Linked DNA regions of Homo sapiens: regions 2, 3, 4, 5, 6 and 7 are each linked to region 1. Evidence: promoter capture Hi-C in 16 types of primary human blood cells and fetal thymus (Javierre and others, 2016). All regions are on one chromosome and are shown on one strand. The core of a region is centred on a gene start or on the middle of the fragment in contact, and the rest is flanking DNA. Distances in the headings are between cores, read along the strand shown.

The links. Contacts are between HindIII fragments. The CHiCAGO score rates a contact against its expected background, and 5 or more counts as called.
Region 2: a fragment that was not itself captured here is called in contact with the fragment with the promoter of PTPN23 in region 1 in 2 of 17 cell types (neutrophils and endothelial precursors); the score reaches 6.3 in neutrophils.
Region 3: a contact is called between a fragment that was not itself captured here and the fragment with the promoter of PTPN23 in region 1, in 2 of 17 cell types (neutrophils and erythroblasts). The highest score is 7.2, in neutrophils.
Region 4: a contact is called between a fragment that was not itself captured here and the fragment with the promoter of PTPN23 in region 1, in 1 of 17 cell types (neutrophils). The highest score is 5.6, in neutrophils.
Region 5: a fragment that was not itself captured here is called in contact with the fragment with the promoter of PTPN23 in region 1 in 1 of 17 cell types (endothelial precursors); the score reaches 5.6 in endothelial precursors.
Region 6: a contact is called between a fragment that was not itself captured here and the fragment with the promoter of PTPN23 in region 1, in 2 of 17 cell types (megakaryocytes and neutrophils). The highest score is 6.3, in megakaryocytes.
Region 7: a contact is called between a fragment that was not itself captured here and the fragment with the promoter of PTPN23 in region 1, in 1 of 17 cell types (megakaryocytes). The highest score is 5.8, in megakaryocytes.

What each region holds. Positions count from the first base shown.
Region 1 is chr3:47,379,658-47,382,468 of GRCh38, reverse strand. PTPN23 (protein tyrosine phosphatase non-receptor type 23) reads right to left here and starts at 1,448. Exons shown (of 25, transcript NM_015466.4): 1 at 1,289-1,448. The coding sequence starts at 1,372. It overlaps PTPN23-DT (PTPN23 divergent transcript), which reads left to right and starts at 977. Exons shown (of 1, transcript NR_185912.1): 1 at 977-2,811. RefSeq lists enhancers at 709-1,384, 1,426-1,645, 1,816-1,875, 1,385-2,062. The HindIII fragment of the contact is 8,365 bases long and covers 1-2,663 here.
Region 2 is chr3:46,915,211-46,918,021 of GRCh38, reverse strand. No RefSeq gene overlaps it. Among named protein-coding and RNA genes, the nearest start is that of PTH1R, 39 kb to the right of the region's middle. The HindIII fragment of the contact is 4,758 bases long and covers 1-2,811 here.
Region 3 is chr3:46,940,071-46,942,881 of GRCh38, reverse strand. CCDC12 (coiled-coil domain containing 12) reads left to right here. Exons shown (of 7, transcript NM_001277074.2): 2 at 1,817-1,884. Among named protein-coding and RNA genes, the nearest start is that of CCDC12, 35 kb to the left of the region's middle. RefSeq lists enhancers at 2,084-2,583, 2,584-2,811. The HindIII fragment of the contact is 9,713 bases long and covers 1-2,811 here.
Region 4 is chr3:47,001,013-47,003,823 of GRCh38, reverse strand. NBEAL2 (neurobeachin like 2) reads right to left here. Exons shown (of 54, transcript NM_015175.3): 28 at 2,645-2,811; 29 at 2,386-2,545; 30 at 1,998-2,135; 31 at 1,536-1,904; 32 at 1,304-1,453; 33 at 1,022-1,179; 34 at 743-867; 35 at 515-650; 36 at 1-8. Among named protein-coding and RNA genes, the nearest start is that of NBEAL2, 23 kb to the right of the region's middle. The HindIII fragment of the contact is 5,454 bases long and covers 1-2,811 here.
Region 5 is chr3:47,019,397-47,022,207 of GRCh38, reverse strand. It overlaps SETD2 (SET domain containing 2, histone lysine methyltransferase), which reads left to right. Exons shown (of 21, transcript NM_014159.7): 19 at 2,368-2,448. Among named protein-coding and RNA genes, the nearest start is that of NBEAL2, 41 kb to the right of the region's middle. RefSeq lists a silencer at 2,714-2,793. The HindIII fragment of the contact is 375 bases long and covers 1,260-1,634 here.
Region 6 is chr3:47,036,764-47,039,574 of GRCh38, reverse strand. It overlaps SETD2 (SET domain containing 2, histone lysine methyltransferase), which reads left to right. Exons shown (of 21, transcript NM_014159.7): 18 at 1,798-1,909. Among named protein-coding and RNA genes, the nearest start is that of NBEAL2, 59 kb to the right of the region's middle. The HindIII fragment of the contact is 4,494 bases long and covers 1-2,811 here.
Region 7 is chr3:47,064,867-47,067,677 of GRCh38, reverse strand. SETD2 (SET domain containing 2, histone lysine methyltransferase) reads left to right here. Exons shown (of 21, transcript NM_014159.7): 13 at 560-608. Among named protein-coding and RNA genes, the nearest start is that of NBEAL2, 87 kb to the right of the region's middle. RefSeq lists an enhancer at 1-261. The HindIII fragment of the contact is 2,268 bases long and covers 340-2,607 here.

The DNA of each region.
Region 1 (2,811 bases), core at 199-2,698:
ATGCCTGTAATTCCAGCTACTTGGAAGGCTGAGGCAGGAGAATCGCTTAAACCCGGGAGGCTGACGTTGCGGTGAGCCGAGATCGTGCCATTGCACTCCAGCCTGGGCAACAAGAGCGAAACTCCGTCTCAAAAAAAAAAAAAAAGGTAGGAAAAAGAAACAGCAGATGAAGAAGAGAGCAACGTCTGGATAACCGTTAACAAAATTCTAGAATTTTGGATCAATTACCCTCATTTCCTGGCCCCAAGAGGCTAGATGATGGACTCAAACACTGTCTGAACTAAGGCAATGGTGTATGGCGATTAGAGGGGAGACAGCTTCTTGGGAAACTACTTCCAAACCCATTTTCTTTTTCCTATTTGTCTTCCCAAGCGTCTCGCTAAGTGGTGCACCATCTAGATTGGGGCTTACTCTGGCATCTGCTGTGCTAAGCCCACAAGGCCCCCCACCTGCGACGGCCTCCTGGTTGTTCCTTTTCATTTCTGCTCTAGCCCTCAGTGCTACCAATACAGCGGATGTCTCGGAGGGCACCTGTGTTCAATCACCACACCTGAACCTCTCCACAGAAGTTCCTTGCCTTAGTCAACGCCAAACCTGCCCGTCTGTTCTTCCAACACAGTAAGATTTCTCTGAGCTCTACAACACTGTTTATGCCCTCCAGTCGGTTACGAAAAGCAGTAACCCTCCTAAAAATGTCGTGGGATTGTATTGTTTGGTCCAAAGAGACTCCCGAATGGGAGACCATACAGAATCGCAGCAATTGTAAAACAAACCCTCACCGCAGGGGTCGGGCATCTCCCTGGGCCACCGGGGCTCACGTCTTAAACACACGCCCCTGAGCCATCCCCAGTGTCTGTCCCAGGCGGGCGTGGACTTGACAGCGCACCGAGGGCCGGGCGCAGCAAAAGAATCCGCACGGTCAGGGCCGCCCACCGCTCCCGCGCGGGGCGGTCCTGGCATGGAGGAGGGGCGGGGCAGAACTGGGTCCGAGCGTCAGAAGGAGGAAGTGTGCTGCCTCAGTGGGAACAGCGGATGACTCGGGGCAGAAGTCGGGAACCGGGTTCAGATGAAGATGCAGGTGCTAGCACGGGGCTATCGGGGAGGAGAAGAATGGCCTGCGGGCGCCGGGGTGTGGGACAGGCTGAGGAAAACCGGCGAAGGCCCCTCCTGGCCTCACCGGACCCTGCGACCGGGCCTGAGGAGGTGATGGGCGCGCAGGGGGGCGTCACGCGCTTGCAGACGACGGAGATACGCGGCGGATAGGGGGGAAGATGGAAGGCAAGCTCACCTTCTTCACAGCTGGCTGGAAGTGAAAGTCACCGGCCTCCTTCAGGTCCAGCCAGATCATGGGCATGCGGGGCACGGCCTCCATGGCGGCTGGCACCCGCCGGCCACCCGGCCACTCCCGTAGCTGCTGCAGCTGCTGGCTCAGCCACGAGCCCAGCCCCGCCCCTTCGTGCCGGAAGTCACTGGTCACGGGAGGGAATGAAAAATGCCAGCGGCCTGCCGGGAGTTGCAGTGAACCCAGCCACCCGCTCGCGTAGTCTTTTGCGCAGGCGCTGTCCCTGTTGCGCATGCTCAGTCTTCTTCGCGCGGAGGGAGTAGGGCGGGGAGGAGCTCGCCAGCCCGAGGCGAAACGGCTTCTGGGATAGTAGTCTTCATCCACTAAACTGAGAGGCGCGGAGCGAGCTTATTCCCCGCTCCCGGGCCAAGCCCAGCTGCGGGTCCCGCCCGCCGCGCTCCTCCCTCCTAGGAAGAGCATGAGACCTCACCTATGAACTTGCCCTCCCACGTATTGTCAAGAGCCGTGGAGGACTGGTGCTGTGGTAGAGATGACGTGGCGGGCGGGCCGCTGGAAAGAGATGACGCGAAAACGGGCCTTAGAGAGGGTGCGGAGGGAGCACCTGGCCTGAAGGAGTCGGGGCTGAGAGCTGGGGGTTTCAGTCCCAGTGCTGCGAAGGCTTTCGAGCTTTGGAACAGAATCACTGACCGGAGACTGGCCTACTCAGCCCAGCCTGGGAGGCCGGGCAGTGCCCAAGGGAGACGGACGATAGGGAGGGAGCGCCTGGATGGAGGGTCTCAAGCGGAGTGAGGAGGCCCCGGGCCCTGTGGGGAAGTGGGTGGGGGAAGGTATACGGCCAGGTGAGCACCCAGGGACGCCCACAGTATCTGGAAGGAGACCACGGAATGGAGAGCACCTGTTGCCTCTGGAGAGGGGACCTATAGAGCAGGAATTGTTAAATCATATGGCTGTATCACCTACTTTTAGAAATAAATAATAGGCTACTCGGGAGGCTGAGGCTGGAGGTTCAATCGCTTGACCTGGGAGGCGGAGATTGCGGTGAGCCTAGATCTTGCCACTGCTCTCCAGCCTGAGCGACAGAGCGAGACTCCGTCTCAAAATAATAATAGTAACAATAGAAATAACAGAGAATGGCCTGGAGATAGTGAGTGCAAAAGTGCGAGCTGGGAGATCAGTGAGCCTTTTGTAGTCTTCCAGGAGACAGGTGATTGTGGCTTGGAGCAGAGGGAAGTAAAAAGTGAGCAAAGAAATATTTTGCCCACTTTGAGAAATATTTGAGGAATATTTTGGAGACAAAAGTATCAGAACTTGGAATGGATGGATGTAAGGGCATGAGGACGTCGAATATGATTTCCAAGCTTCTGGCTTGTGCAGGTGGGTGGCTGTGGGGCTGTTTACTGATAAGGGAAAACAAGGGAAGAGCAAAGGTTCAGGTCCGTGTTAAGCTCGAGGTCAAGGCCTTTGACTCGTTCTGGATGAAATGTGGAGACCACGATGCCGGGTGCGGT
Region 2 (2,811 bases), core at 152-2,651, 460 kb after region 1:
AATGCAGCCCAGCAAGATAAACAGTGATAATGTAAAGCAAGTGGCTGAGAGACATGGAGAGTAGAATGAAGAGATCCAACGTAAAGTGACGGAGTTCCAGGTGGGAAAAAAAAAAAATGAAAATGAGGCAGAAGCAATATTTAAAAACTGGCTGAGAACTTTCCAGAAAAAATCACCAATTCACAGATTCAAGAAGACCAGTAAGTCTCAGGCAGGTTAATAGGAAGAACTATACATCCAAATGTTCTGTTTCTTCATCTGGGTGATGATTAGGTATTTTTACTTTATGAATATTCATTGAACTGTATACATGTTTTATGCCCTTTTTGTATGTTTATTCTAAGTAAGCAAATTTACTTAAAAAAATTCTACACTTTTTATTAATCATCAGTTGCTACACATAAATTACCCAAAACTCGGGGGCTTAAAATAACAAACACTTATTACCTCAGTTTCTGTGGGCCAGGAATCAGGAGTGGCTTAGCTGGGTAAGTCTAGCTTGGGGTCAGTTGTGAAGCTGCACTCATCTGAAGGCTGGACTGGGGCTGGAGGATCTGTTTCCAAGATGACTCATGGGGCTGTTGATTGGTGGCCCCTGTGTCTTGCCACATGGACCTCTCCATCGGCCTGTGTGTTCTCAAGACATGGCAGGTGGCTTTCCCAGAGTGGCAGTCTAAGAAAGAAGGCAGGAGGGAGCGTTGTGGGGCTTTCTTATGATCTGGGCTTGGAAGTGATATTCTGCTACATTCTGTTTGTTAGAAGCAAGTCACTACGCCCAGTCGACACTTAGAAGAATTAGCTTCCACTTCCTGAAGGGAGGACTGTGTAAGAATTTGTGGACTTATTTAAAAACTACCACATACCTAATCACATTGTAATAACATTAAAGAGCACAAAGACCAAGAAAATACCTTAAAATCAGAGAGAAAGGACATACTACCTTTTGAGGAGCAACATAGCAGCAGATATCTCAGCTATAACCAGTGTAAACAGGAATGAAAGAAAGTTGTCATCCTAGAATTGCATACTCAGGGAAAATATGAGACGTGTTTTTTGTTTTTTTGCAGAGATGGGGTCTCACTATTTTGCCCAGGCTGATCTTGAACTCCTGAACTCAAGTGATCTGCCCACCTTGGCCTCCCAAAGTGCTGGGATTACAGGCCTGAGCCACCGCACCTGGCCTAAGATGTTTTTAGACCAACGAAGTCAGGGATTCTGTCACCAGCAGACTCTCACTAAATGAAAATCTATTTTGGGGTAATGAAAATGTTCTAAAAGTGATTGTGGTTGCACAAATCTGTGAATATGCTGAATATGCCAAGAGCCATTGAATTGTACACTTTAATGGGTGGGCTGTATATGTATAAAGTTGTTTTTTAAAAATGAAATAAGCATTCTCCTTTTAAAAAAATCATAAAGGATATTTTCAGACTGAGGGGCACAATCCCAGATGGAAAGTCCAGAGAAAGGAAGTATAAATGTAAATAAGCACTGACCTTGTAAAACAAAAATGTGTTGTGGGGTAAAGCAGGGGCTATTTAGAATACATAACAACAATGGTATGTAAGTTCAGAGGTAGGAGGTGGTTGGGGTTACAGTCCTTGAAGACGCTCACTTAGGAAGAGGGATAAGACTAGGAAACAGGCCTCTTGACATTTCTGGGGTAACCTGAAAAGAGTAGAAACAGAGTGTACCACTTTCAGAGGAGATGAGAGAGGAAAAAAAAAAAAAAAAACCAGAATGGGAAAAAAGTAACTATCCAAAAGAAAGCAGAGAGAAAAGGTGGATTGAGTAGTTGAATCCAGATATATCAGTAATAGCAAGGTATTAGACTGCTTTTCTTTCTTTTTTTTTTTCCTTTAAACTCAGTTTGCTGAGTTTAAAAAAACCTGAAGCCGACTGGGTGCAGTGGCTCATGCCTGTAATCCCAGCACTTGAGAAGGCTGAATTTGCTCGAGTCTCAGGCAGATTGCTTGAGCCCAGGAGTTCAAGACCAGTCTGGGCAAAATGGTGAAACTCCGTCTTCTACAAAAATAAAAAATAAAAAAATTAGCCAGGCGGGGTGGTGCCTGCCTGTAGTCGCAGCTACTTGGGAGGCTGAGGTGGGAGATCATGTGAGCCTGGGAGTTCTGAGCGACAGAGTGAGACCCTGCCTCATAAATTAATAGAAACAAAGATTAATGGGACTAGAAAAGCTCTATCAAGCACAGGATCAACAAAAGAAAGTGGAGGTGGCAGGAGTGAGGCCAGGCAAGGGAGACTTTCAGAAGTGTCATTAGCTACACCACTGTACTGTGGAGCAGTGGGACCTCTCACCCACAGCCATAAGAGTGTGAAATGTGTAACCACGTTGGGAAAGTTGAACATGTGCACGCTGGGACCCATCAGTTGCGCTCTTAGTGCACTAGAAAACTTGCACATGTACACCAGGAGACAGGGACAGAAATGCTTGTAGAAGCATTGTTTGTAATAGCACGGGCACATGTGTGCACACACACACTAAATCAAAGCCAGAATGTGGTAATAATAAGTTGTCATTCTGAAAGTGTGATGTTCCATAGCTGTGAGAAGAGCTACAGTCATGTGCAACAAATGGATAGATGTTGAAAGAAGCAAGTCACGGAAGAAATAGAGTATGAGCCATTTGTGTGACGTTCCAAACAGGCGGAGTGAGACAATGTAAGGACACACGCAGGTGGTAAGGCCAGGGCAGAAGAGCAAGGTGGTGATCGTCAACTTCAGGCTTGTAGTTAGCTCTGGAGTGGGGCCCTTTGAGATAATGGCAAAGTGTTTTTCTTGGCTTGAGTGATG
Region 3 (2,811 bases), core at 159-2,658, 440 kb after region 1:
TTCTCTCCCCCTATGCTGTATCACCCAATTCTGCCCAGCCCATCTCTCAGTAGGAAACCTCTCACCCATCGCCCAAGAACCACGTTCCATGTTGACCTCTCTCGTGTAGCTGCTGTCACTTGGTCAGTTATTTTGTTCTCGCTGCCTCGTTGCCATGAGATGAGCTGCCCTGAGTTGGGGTGGGGGGCATGTTGATCTGTTCTCATGACAGAAGCCTTTCTCTGGGCCAGGCCTCCGACCTGGTTTTGGTAGTCTGCTCCCCGGAGGTTGTGTGGCCAAGGAATGGCAGGGTCTGGTTGATGCCTGCAGTCTCCACATAAAGCAGATACCATTCTTAGGAAGGCAGTTGTCAATGGCATAAATAAATGTCTAGGAAAGGTAGTTCAAGTAGCTGTTTTACTTATAATTTATATGCAGGCTCCAGCGCATTCTGTGTCCACCAGAGCAGGCTCCCAATGGAAGGAGCTCACAGATCTCTCTTAGAACACTGCTCTGCGAGAGTCAAAGGCAGGACGCTGCCATAGTGAAGTGAGCATTGTCACCTTCTGGAGTGCCAACCCTGGCATGCAGGGAGACCCACGACAGCTCTGTCTTGGGGCCTCTCAGTCCATGCCCTGGGCCCCAGGTGTGGTCACACGAATTTGTGCATGTGCACACACGCCCTGCGTCAGTTTGTCCACAGGCAGGCTGACCTAACAGAGGTAATCACATAATAAAGGATAAAGTCCAGGAAGACATTTTCTGCTTCAGGTGGAAGCAGTATGGCAGTTTCCTTCTGTTGTGGCCCCCAGTGCACCTGAGAACAAGCATAACATGTCAAGGTTGAGATGAACATGACTCTGTAGACTTCAAAAAGAGGTGCAGTTGGTGGGAAGTCAAAAGAACCAGATTAAGAAAATTTTCATGGAAACTTCAGACTAATTCCCCTTGCCTCTGTCTCCCTGAATATAGCATAGGCCTAGGCAGTGAATCTTGTTGCAAGCCTGGTCCTAGTTCATGTTACTTCTAAAGCGAATCAAATAGGTATTTCTGGAGAGGACTCTGGCCTGAAAGGTGTCTCAGGAGGCCTGAGCTCTCATCCTGCCCTGGTTGCTGGTAACTTCTTTCCCCAGTCTTTCCTAGCTTAGCAGGTGGTTCTGTCTAGACCCATGAAGGTGACTGCTGGCCTGCCAGCATGGCCCCTCCATGGCACCAAGTGGCTGCATTTCTCACCACCTAAAGCCATCCAGCTCTTTCTGTGAGTGTTCTCTAAGGGCTACCAGGTACCTGGGACTGGGCTGGAGTTACGGACTTTTTTTGTTGCTTTTTTTTTTTTTTGAGATGGAGTCTCGCTCTGTCGCCCAGGCTGGAGTGCAGTGGCTTGATCTCGGCTCACTGCAAGCTCTGCCTCCCAGGTTCACGCCATTCTCCTGCCTCAGCCTCCCGAATAGCTGGGACTACAGGCGCCCACTACCACGCCCAGCTAATTTTTTTGTGTGTTTTTAGTAGAGATGGGGTTTCGCCGTGTTAGCCAGGATGGTTGCGATCTCCTGACCTCGAGATCCGCCCACCTCGGCCTCCTGAAGTGCTGGGATTACAGGCATGAGCCACCGCGCCCAGCCAAGAGTTATGGATTTTTAAATTCTGCACAGGCAATGAGGCTCCAGTTGTGCCTATGAGATGCAGCAGGCGTGTACCCTGTTGGAGTCTGGGACACCAAGCTGGGCCCTGCCAGGTGCCCCCCTTCTGAGATGTCCTGTTCTTTAGCTCCCTGGGCCACGTGGACTGGAAGTAGGAGCTTTCAACTGAGCTGGTGGTTTTCTCCCTTTCTTTGCAGGACAAGGAAGATGGGGAGCCAAAGACCAAGCATCTCAGAGAAGAGGAGGAAGAAGGCGAGAAGCACAGGTAATGCCCGTGTGCAGCTCCAGGGTCTGCTCTCTCCTCCAGCACTCATCGGTCTCCCAGTCTCTGGGTCCTCCCAACTCTGTTCAGTGTCTGCCCTGTTCCCTCCCCTCTTCTTTCTGCCCATGGCTGTCCTGTTCAGACCTTAAAATCTCAACATCTCAGAAGGCCCTTGTCGAGGCCTTCTCTGCCTCCTTTCCCTCATTTTCCATTTGGCTGTTACTCAGCCCCCAGCATTTTCTTTCTAGCCCTTACATTATGCCTTTTTACCCTTCTCATACACCTTTTGTGGCGTGGTTCTCCATTGCCTACTGAGTAAGTGCCCCTTCTGCACTTGGCATGTGAAGCTCTGCCTGGACCATCTAGCCTCATCCAACCTCCTCTGGTTTCCCTCTAGCCAGAGCCCTTTGTGGTCGGCCCTTGCCACCTCTGGCCACTCAGCATTTCCTGACCAGTCTTTTGTCCGTCCTCTCAGCCTGGAGGTCCTTCTCATCTCTCCTATACCTTTGATGTCTGGGTCTTCACATAGAGTTCAGCTCAAAGGGCGCCTTTCTCGTTGTCTGTGTCCCTCTGGCTTCATTTCCCTCTGTAGTATTTATCTTATTTTGTCGAATACTCTCATCTGGTTGGGTCCACTTAAGTTGCCTAAACACAGCACACGTGAGGGTCTTGGGTACACTTCCCTCGTGATTGCAGGCACAAGGTCTTCCCCCGCAGTCTTGAGGGCTGCAACCTCCACAGAGCCTCAGATGCTGCTTTGCCTCCCAAAAATCTGGAGCCTGGAAACTGTTGCCGGAACCAGTGTGTGGGGTGAGCGAGGCAAAGCTGTGCTGCTGATCTTTGTGAGCAGAGTGTCTGACTACCACTCCCGTGTCAGCAGTTCCAGAGGTCTCATGTCCTCCCTCCCATGCCTAGCCCTGAGATGGGGCT
Region 4 (2,811 bases), core at 114-2,613, 380 kb after region 1:
CCTCCATCCTAAAGACCAGCAACCCACCTCACGCTGTAGGCTCTGGGACCCCCTTCTTCACAAGCCCAAAGGGCATCCAAGTGCCATTGAGTCATGGGGTATATACTCTCATGACTCCCAGAGATGGGGAGGGGCTGCCTAGGGTCCAGAACCTACTGGTCCCAGCCCCTGTCCCCCACCTGCCACCCACTGGGCTTCTGAATATTTTGCCAGGATGCCAACCCTTGTCCCCTGCTCCCCTCACCCAGCCCCTGCCCACTCCCTGGGCCCCCTTCCTGCTCTGGTTTGTGTTTCTCAGTGCTGTCCTCAGGTGCCTGGCTGTTAAAAGAGCAACTCTCAGCCCTGTTAGGAGACTCTCCCACTCACCATCTGGCTTTGGACAGTCCCTTCAGGGGGACGTAGTCGGGCAGCAGAAGAGGACACACTCAGGGAGTTGATCCCACAGAGGCATGCACACACTGGAGCAGACCCCTTGCCCACCACACCAGTCCAATCTCTCCAGGGCCCCACTCACGGGGTCTCCAGCTCAGCCAGCTCGTCCTCGCCGAGCTGGTCCTCCTGCAGCAACTCGGGTGGGGTGCTCACTTTGGCCTCTTTGGTCACTGCCAGAGGCAGTGAGGCCTCCTCGGTGGGTGTCAGGGGAACCTCACCTGCAAGGGGCCAAGGGTACTCAGCAGAAGCAAGGCAGGACAGGAGACGGGACAATCGAGTTGGGTGGACCCATCTCAGCACACTCCCTCACCCAGATTGTCTCGGAGAGCGCTGGCTTCCAGGTGAGGGTCGAAGTGATGGTTGGGCACCAGCTTCAGACGCATGCGTGAATATGTCTCGGCGCTGGACAGTTTCCAGCGGGGGATGGGAGTGTCCCTGCAGAATGTCCCCCAGGTCATGGGTCGGTAGAAGGCTGTAGACACCCCCATCCCTCCCTGGCCTCACCCCAAAGGCAGTCTGGGGCTCCAGGTGGCTCCCTCCCTCCCAAGCCCCACCCCTCCACAGCGACCCTGCCCCAAGCCCGGCCCACCTCAGCGCCCAGGCCCCACATGGGCTGGCGAGCTGGCGCCACAGCGCCCCCCAGTGCAGCAGGGCCATGGAGTGCTGCGTTGCCTGCTGCTTCAGCACTGCCGTGTAGCGTAGCCCCTCCAGGCGCGCCCGCCTCTGCGCAGGTTCCAGCACCAGCTCCTGGGGTGGGGGTAATAGGTCAGTCCCCTGGCTGCTGCCTGCCCTACCCGTTTCTCCACATTGTCAGTCATCTCCTGGGTGCATGTGTGGAGCAGTTTCCCATCCCTTACCCCGGGTGGCACACCTGGAAGGCCCGACGACTCTGGGCGCGCTCCCACTGGCGCCGCTGCCCACTGCTCATAAGCATGTCATAGCAGGCATTCCAGAAACCTGACATAAGGTCGTGGCTCTTAGCATACGTGTCCATTTCGAACTGGGACATGGTTGGCTGTACCTGGAGGATTGGGCAGAGGAGAACAGTGCTCGATGTGGGCCCCAGCCCCCACTCCTCTTCCTGGGCCCCAACCTCCAGGCACCTGTTTGTCGATGAAGTGGCGCCATTCGGGTGTGGCACAAAAAGCCTGGAAGTCTTCAAAGAAGGTGGGGCTGCCATTGGTGGGTGGCAGGGAGGGCAGTCCCCACTGCAGCCCCAGCGGCTCATAGGCACGGTCTAGCAGCGTGCGCACCAGTGGCACCAGCCAGGAGCAGCGCTCTGCAGCTGCTGCAGCTGCTGCAGCTGCAAGTGGGGACCCTGCCTCATCAGTGGCTGACTCCAAGGAAGAGGTGTTCAGCACCCGCCCCAGTGCAGCCTCCAGCTTGGAGAGCACATAGCAGGCCTCCTCGCGGCGGGCTGGCACTGCAGTCTGTAGCAGCATGTGCAATCTCACGTAGGCCTGGGCATGCAGCTGTGGGCGCAAGAGAGATGAGTGGCACCCAGCCACTCTTGGAGCTCCCGACATCTCACACGCCCCCTGCCCCCATGCTCACCCTGTGCTCACCTGTGGGTCTTCCAGCAGGATGTAGCCAAGTACAAGCCGTAGGCCAATCTGCGCCATCTCACGGAGATCAGCTGTGCCGTTGGCCAGGTGGGGCCAGGCTCCCAGGCGATCAAGTAGGCTGCATACACCTTCAAAGAGCTGCCACAGAAAACAGGTTCCCAACAGACATCACCAGGGGAGGCCAGGAGTCCATGGAAAGGGAGCAAAGTAAAGTTTGCGCTGGGGGCCAGGTAGGGTTTGTGCACACAGGCAAGTCCACACTCACAGGCATTCATGCTGATGCACCCACACCTGCGCACGTGTACCCATCCACCTCCCAGACCAGATCCCTGCAGGCTTGCATGAACATGAGTGTTCATGTGGCTCACGCCTCTCTGAGGGGTCGCACCTTCTCACTCCACAGTTCCTGGTTACCATGGCCTTCAGCACACAGGAAGTCCTGCAGCAGACGCAGCAGCCAAAGCGCTTGCTGGGTGAGGCTGGCCAGGACCCCCACGGGGGCCTCTTTGATGTCGGTCAGGGCTGACTCCAGCATCATCTCCAGGAGGCTGGCGGGTGAGTGGGGAACTCAAGGGTCTACCTGACTATCTTCTCTCCTTCCCCCGAGGCTTCCTGAAGCCCCTCCCCCTCCAGACTTTCCCTCTCACCTGCGCTTGATGCAGTCTGGTGGGCGCACAAGTGTGGCTGAGGCCCCCAGCTGGGTGAGCACTGAGAAAACCTGGCCACGCTCCCGCCAGGCAGCCTCATCGCTGCCTTCCACGCCACGCCACGTCACCGAGAACAGCACGTTGGTGAGCAGATTGCACAACTCTTC
Region 5 (2,811 bases), core at 198-2,697, 360 kb after region 1:
TGTGTGTGTGTGTGACAGATTGTTGCTCTGTCTCCCAGGCTGGAGTGCAATGGCATGATCTCAGCTCACTGCAACCTCCACCTCTCCCGGGTTCAAACGATTCTCCTGCCTCAGCCTCCCAAGTAGCTGGGACTACAGGCACAAGCGATTCTCCTGCCTCAGCCTCCCAAGTAGCTGGGACTACAGGCACGCGCCACCACGCCCAGCTAATTTTTGTATTTTTAGTAGAGACGAGGTTTCACCATGTTGGCCAGGATGGTCTTGATCTCTTGACCTCGTGATCCGCCCTCCTCCGCCTCCCAAAGTGCTAGGATTACAGGCGTGAGCCACCACACCCAGCCTTACCTGCTAAATTTTTAAATGGGACTTTTTTGGAGTGGGGGGTCCTAAGGTTGTTCATGTCAATAACAAGTGCTGTCCTCAACTCAGACTCTGGTTACTTTGCCTGGCATTAGATTTGAGTAAATGTTAGCCAGTTTCTGAAATTATTTCCCATGCCATTTGCAAATCACAGACCATGAAGAGAGGGTTTCATGAATTTCAGTACTCTCAAGAGTATTCCATTTTGGTTCATGATTTCCATGATGTAAGTCTGGGGACCCCTCATTTTATCATTTCCTTTCTCGATCCCAATTGCTCAGCACTCAGGAGGACCAAGAAAGCTCCTAGACAGAGCTCAGTGGATTGTATTCTATAATTGTGTTTTTAAAGGCCACCCCCCACCAATCCCCCGCCAACCTCATCAAGTCAGGGATTAAATTATAAATCTATTAAAAGTGCTTTGGGTTCATTTAGCTTTGTGAGTGCATACCCTATCCAGAGTGAAACAGGACATTTCTATTTACATAGTACCCTCGCTGAGAGCATGGCCTCTTCTATAGGACCCAGATCTTTGAGATACCCAGACCTGAAGGGGCTTTCTGTACTCATTTCTGTTGCTGCTGACTTCTGAGAGCTACAAGAGAGTAGCTGGGGATGTGTTGAAGTTTTCTTGACTTACTCAAATAATTCTTGATCCCTTGCTACCTAAGGTCTTACTGTGGAGCATACTCATACCATCTACAACTGGGGGAAAAAAAATAACAAAATCCCAAAGCAAAACACTTGAAAATAGACTTAACTTATATTATTAGCATTATTTTTGCTTAGTTTTGTTTTCTTAAAAAACAAATTGGATCTTTATATTCTTTTTACTCTACCCCCTAATCTCCCCATACAGCTACATGAAGAAATTGGAAAAATAGAAAATACGTAAAGCTTTTATGACACAGCAGAGAAAGTTGATTTGTAACAGCCTAAAGCCAAGGGAGTGCCACCTTTCTCTGGAGCTAGTCCAGCTGCTTTAGAACCAGAGCCTTCATACTGTTTATGGAAATGGAAGAAGCAGAACCAGGAGATGGGTGGGGAGCAGGAAAATTATTCTACCCTGTGCCCCTAACAAAAAAGTGTGAAGTACCTATAATATCAACTCCAGCTTCTAGATCCATTATGAAGTAACTTATATTTGGAGGGGAATGCTCATAATTATTATTTTCCGTGGAAAAGCACATTTACTGGGAAGGGGCCTGATGGCTAGTGGTGGGCAAAGGTATGGGGAGATGGCCTGCATGACAGGTGCTCTGAATACCAAAGCTTCCAACTCATCGCCTCCTGGTGCAGTACCTAGTTAGAGGGAACTTGGAAGCCTCCCTCTAGCAGTGCTGGAAGGGAATGTTCCTGGGTTTGTCATTATCTTGCCAGCTGGGGACATAGAGTATCTTCTGTGTCATCATCTACTTATCTGTTCACTGGCTTTGATGACCTTCATCACCTCCCCGTCAATATCGTGATACTTCCTTAATCTTTCTGTTCCTAAACTGAAGGTACCAACCTCCAAGGAGCCTCTCTTGCATACTGAGACTGTCTTCTACAGTCTAGCCAACTCCACCTTTGGAGGAAAGGTGATGAGTATTCAAGAGTCTTCAGAACAGAGCATTTCGCCTCTGTCCTGGAATCCTAGAGTGTCAGAGGTGGGAGAGATGGAGCTTGTTTTGTGCCGGCCTTGCTTGATAGTTCAGGGAGCTGAACCCAGAACAGGGACATGAGTGACTCTGAAATGTGTGGCTATATCAAAGTTGTAGCTTTGACTTAGGGTAGAGAATTGGAACTTAACTTATAAGAAGGAGAGCCAAACCATGTAACAGGATTTGAAACATAATAGCCAAGTTGACTCCAGGCCTTGTACCTGAGTCAGGGCCTCTAAACGGATTCTAATACCAAGAATCAGGTATCCCTGCTAGGGGAAAGAAAGGAGGGTTCTGGGACAGTAGGGCATCACTAAACTGACTTCTCATGCCAGCACCACTGTGTTTTCTCCTCCATTTTTAGGCCTCGAAAAAGCCCAAGACAGCAGAAGCAGACACCTCCAGTGAACTAGCAAAGAAAAGCAAAGAAGTATTCAGAAAAGAGGTAAGGTTTGGTGGATATAAGCACTAAGCTCCTCAGGCTTAAATCTGAACCCTTTCATTTCTTGTCCTAAGTATGTCGAATATCTCCTTTGCCCCAAGATAGGCAGGAACACAAGGTGTTCCTTGTGTGTATGTCTTGCTGAAGTGCTTCTTTTAGCACTGAAAACTCCTCAGCCATCTTTTCTTGGCTTGACAGGAGCCCCTCTCAGACCACATTTGCTTGTTTGACTGTGGGCCTTCTGTAGCATCTATGGCAAAAGAAAGCTGTCTGTAGTGGTAGGCTGCCTTGTCTTTGGGTATTCCTCTTGCTTCTGTGATTTGACTTAGTTGTTATGTGAATGACACATTGGTGAAAGAGGTGTGG
Region 6 (2,811 bases), core at 225-2,724, 340 kb after region 1:
TTTTTTAACACCAAAACAAATTTTAAATATTCTATCAATCTTCCAAAAATAAAAAAAGTTTGGGCCGGACATGGTGGCTTACGCCTGTAGTCCCAGCACTTTGGGAGGCTGAGGTGGGCGGATCATGAGGTCAGGAGTTTGAAACCAGCCTGACCAACATGGTGAAACCTCACCTATACTAAAAATACAAAAATTAGCTGGGCGTGGTGACACGCACCTGTAATCCCAGCTACTCAGGAGGCTGAGGCAGGAGAATCACTTGAACCCAGGAGGCAGAGGTTGCAGTGAGCTGAGATCACGCCATTGCACTCCAGCCTGGGTCACAGAGCGAGACTCCATATCAGAATAAAAAAAAAAAAAAGTTTGTATTTCTTATTTATATGTGTACCTTTCCCATCTTTTCTAGGTTTTCTTTATCTGGTAGCTAAGAACAGACATGTATATATTTGTTCAGTTTCTATAATAACATCCTTAGCTGCTTGTGGTTCTTTTATTATGGTAGAAATCTTGAGCCTTTTAAAATAAATGAGTTCCATAGGTCAGAGGTAAGCCTATTTTTACAATAGTCTATATATATGTATATACACTGATTTATATCAAGTGTCTTTAATGTTGTTATGTTGTTGACTGAAGATTGATGTGGTGGTAAAGCAGAAGACTGTAGTGACAAGACTGACCTGCCAGATTTGTTAGATCCTTTGAGGCTTTTGACATTTTAAGTCACTGTCCTCATAACATTCTCTGTTACAGCTGGCTTCAGACTCCTGAACGTGAATATCCTTACTTCCACTTTTTATCCTACAGATCTTTTTTAAAAAAGAAAAATCTTTGCTTGCTTATTTTCAAAATGACTGTAAACATTTAAAGGGTTAACATGGCCGAAACCTTCTTTTTGCAGTCGGTCGGGAATATTTTTAGCAGAGGGTACAAGTTTTTGTTTTTTTTTTTGTTTGTTTTTTAAGACAGAGTTTCACTCTTGTTGCCCAGGCTGGAGTGCAATGGCACGATCTTGGCTCACTGCAACCTCCGCCTCCCAGGTTGAAGTTATTCTACTGACTCAGCCTCCTGAGTAGCTGGGATTACAGGCGCCCGCCACCACGACTGGCAAATTTTTTGTATTTATAGTAGAGATGGGGTTTCACCGTGTTGGCCAGGCTGGTCTCGAACTCCTGACCTCAGGTGATCCACCTGCCTCAGCCTCCCAAAGTGCTGGGAGTACAGGCATGAGCCACCATGCCTGGCCAGGGGTACAAGTTTTTAACCTGTACGTATTTTTCTTGTCAGTCATTAAACCAGAGGGGCAGAACTATTAAAAAGAAAACTCCTAAAGCAAGGGATAATTTTCTCACGTGGTCAAGGACTGTGAGAGGTGTTACATGATTTATTTTGCTCCATTTATATGCTAGGTACAGTCACTGTTTACCTCTTCATCTACAGAGGGGTGACATAGGCAGGGACCTATTTCCTGTACATTTTAGGCTTTGCCCAGTCTTATTTGCATGACATTAAGAGTCAGGTGAGAGACAGACAGGATGTTTGGGTTTACTGCTCTCTTTGACACCCAGTCAGTGTTGCCACATCATTGCCCACAGAAATACAGTCATTGAAGAGGGGCATATCTCTGTGCTAGAATCATTGCTGTTAGGAAGATAGAAAAAGTTTGTCTTTAACTCATGGAGCTGACTTATTCTATGTCTTATTGTATGTTGTATTTTATGTATGTATGAGCAGTGATGTTTATGTCAGGATTCTCTGTTTCCTAGCCCTGACAGCATGGCTGTTTTTGTCTCTTTCTAGGCAGACTCAGTGGGATCCTCCTACTTGGGAAAGCCCAGGAGATGATGCCAGCCTTGAGCATGAAGCTGAGATGGACCTGGGAACTCCAACATATGATGAAAACCCCATGAAGGTGAGTGTGGCTTACACATGTATTTCCTGATCATTTGGGAGTCCGTCCAAGACCATCCCGCATGGTCTTGGGATTCTTTTTTCTTTATTCTGAAAAATAAGTGAGTGACTATGCATGTATCAAGGTGTAGAGATGAAGTCAGGGAGAAAGAATGGCCTTTTTACATATACACCATGGAATACTATGCAGCCATAAAAAATGATGAGTTCATGTCCTTTGTAGGGACATGGATGAAACTGGAAATCATCATTCTCAGCAAACTATCGCAAGGACAAAAAACCAAACACCGCACGTTCTCACTCATAGGTGGGAATTGAACAACGAGAACACATGGACACAGGAAGGGGAACATCACACTCTGGGGACTGTTGTGGGGTGGGGGGGAGGGGGGAGGGATAGCATTAGGAGATATACCTAATGCTAAATGACGAGTTAATGGGTGCAGTACACCAACATGGCACATGTATACATATGTAACAAACCTGCACGTTGTGCACATCTACCCTAAAACTTAAAGTATAATAATAATAAAATAAAAAAATATAAAAAATAATCCCATTACAACCCTGAATCCCTTTTCAAAAAAAAAAAAAAAAAAAAAAAAAAGAATGGCCTTTTTTAGACATTGAGAGACTCAGATGCATACTAACTACTTACTCATTTGAGGGAGATATATGGCCAAGAATTGTGATGGGTGTTCAAAACACCCATTACTATGATCGCTTCAGGGCCTCTCTTGTTCTCTTTGCCTTTTTTTTTTAAATGAGACGGAGTCTCACTCTGTTGCCCGGGCTGGAGTGCAGTGGTACAATCTCGGCTCACTGTAACCTCTGCCTCCTGGGTTCAAGCAATTCTCCTGCCTTAGCCTCCCGAGTAGCTGGGACTACAGATGTGCACTCCAC
Region 7 (2,811 bases), core at 224-2,723, 310 kb after region 1:
AGCACTTTGGGAGGCTGAGTAGATTGCTTGAGCCCAGGAGTTCGAGACCAGCCTGGGCAATGTGATAAAACCCCATCTCTACAAAAATAGAAAAAATTAGCGGGGCATGGTGGCATCCACCTGTGGTCCCAGCTACTTGGGAGGCTGGGGCAGAAGGATTGCTTGTGCCTGGGAGGCAGAGGTTGCAGTGAGCCGAGATCATGCCACTGCCCTTCAGCCTGGGTGACAGAGCAAGACCTTGTCTCAAAAAAAAAAAAAAAAAAAAAAAAAAGATGCTCAGGAAGCGTATCCTTGCCCAGTCATTTAGTATGCTGCTTTGCTAGTGAGATCGTACAAGCTTGATAGATGTAAATATATGTATTTCTGCTATATATTTTTTCTTGTTTTTAAGGGGCCAGGATATATTCTTATTTAAAGCCCAGATATAAGTCAAATTTTAGAGAATAAGTACCAGCTTGTTACTTTCCATTTCTTTATTGTCATGTGAAAACAGTCAGTTTCAAAGCAATCACCATTTCCACCCTCACTAATAACCCTCCCTCTGGTTTATTTTTTGCAGGAGGTATATCGAATTCCAAAGAAAAGTCAAACTGAAAAGGAAAACACAAGTAGGTATTCAGAGATACTCTGTGTTGATGGCTTTACAAATATTCTTTTGTTATGTGCAGAGGTAACTGATAAGAACTTAAGCGTTTTTGTTTTTGAAACTAGAGAATATATAACTAGGTAAATGAAATATTTGGTGTAAAAGTTTGGAAACTTGTGCTTTTATTCTTAATGCATTTTGCCAAAGGAAATGTCTCTTACACTGTTTTGTTGTCGCTTTCCTTGAACTCAGTCTTTACTAGCTTTTTTTCTATTCGTTTGTCCTCTAGAGCAGACATTCTTTATTTTTTTTATTTAGTCTTTTTTTCTTTTATTATTGTGATTTTGATTTTTTTTTTCCTTCGCACCAGATAGAGCAGACATTCTTAAACCTATACTTCTAGATGTCTTTGGGAGGGTCTTTACCTCAAGATATTTATATGCAGCTGGGCAGGGTGGCTCACACCTGTAATCCTAGCACTTTGGGAAGTTGAAGCAGGTGGATTGCTTGAGCCCAAGAGTTTGAGACCAGCCTGGGAAACATGGTGAAACCCTGTCTCTACAAAAAATACAAAAATATTAGCTAAGTGTGGTGGTGTGTGCCTATAATCCTAATTACCAGGAGGCTGAGGTAGGAGGATCACCTGAGCCTAGGAGATTGAGGCTGCAGTGAGCCATGATCGTGCCACTGTACTCCAGCCTGAGCAACAAAGTGAGGCCCTGTCTCTAAAAGGAAAAAAGATGTTTACATGTAAAATTCTGTATGTACACAGTTGACCCTTGAACAACATAGGAGATACAGATACCCTGTGCGTCGAAATTCCACATAACTTTTGACTCCTCATATTATGTATGTTATGTGTATTATGTAACTGTATTCTTAAAATAAAGTAAGCTAGATAAAAATGTTATTAAGAAAATCATAAGAGAAAATATATTTACTCTTCATTAAGTGGAAATAGATCATCATAGAGGTCTTCATCCTTATCTTCACCTTGAGCAGACTGACGAGGAAGAAGAGGGATTAGTCTTGCTGTCTTGGGTGGCACAGTTAGAAGAAAATCCACATATAAGTGGACTTTCATCCAGTTCAAACTCATGTTGTTCAAGGGTTGACTGTATTTACTTTTCTGAGGCAAGTTCAAAACTTTGATCAGATTCTCAGTCACCCCTGAAAAAGTTAGAATCATTGTTTCAGAATGGATAGCAGGGAGGCCATGGGAATCTGGTTTCTGGACTTTACCACTTAGTTACATTTCCAACAAACTTATTTATTGATTTATTTTTTAGAGACAGTGTCTTATTCTGTCATGCAGGCTGAGCACAGTGACACCATCATAGCTCTCACTGCAGCCTTGAACTCCTGGGCTCAGGCAATCCTCTTGCCTCAGCCTCTTGAGTAGCTGAGACTATAGGTGTGTGCCACCATGCCTGGTTATTTATTTATTTATTTATTTTTTGTAGAGACAGAGTCTCGCTATGTTACCCAGGCTAGGCTTGAACTCTTGTCCTTAAGTGCTCCTGTTTCCACCTCCCAAAGTGCTGGGATCACAGATGTAAGCCACTATGCCCAGCCTTAAGAATTTCCTTCCTTTCTTCCAGCACACTTACTTAGAGATTCAAGGAATAGGGTCACTTATGGTGGTTATTGGTTTCATGAGTACCTCCACCACTGACCCACTAAAAGTAGAATGAAGAAGCCAGTGTGATTTTTTTTTTTTGTCTTTTTATTTTTGGTGTGCATAACTTTTTATATAATCTTAGTCTTATTGGTTAAAGACCTGTGAGATAACCTTTGCACCATTGTTTGTCTTTCGAATATTTTTAGTTCCACTCTCTGGTTTAGTCTCTTCATAGCCTCACATTCTACTTAGGGCTGCAAATAACTCTTCCTATAAAAAAGAAGGCAGGACTGGGCAATAGTGGTTGGCAAAACCAGTGGCACCACTATAGGGTTGATTATCAGAAGCTAGCTTTCTGGGATCACTGAGTTAAAACTATTAGTAGCACACAAGCAAAGCTTAAATACCTATGAGCGTTTCTCCATAATATTTTGTAAATATCTAGTCTGGTGTGGCTAGATATTTGCAAATTATTGTGGAGAAATATTTTGCATCCATGAGATGCAGAGGATGATCTGTAATGAACAACTATATCTTTTCAGGGAGTAGCCTCTTTTCTGCCGACCTTAGTCTCTCTTTCACATGTAGAACCCTTCATCTCAGT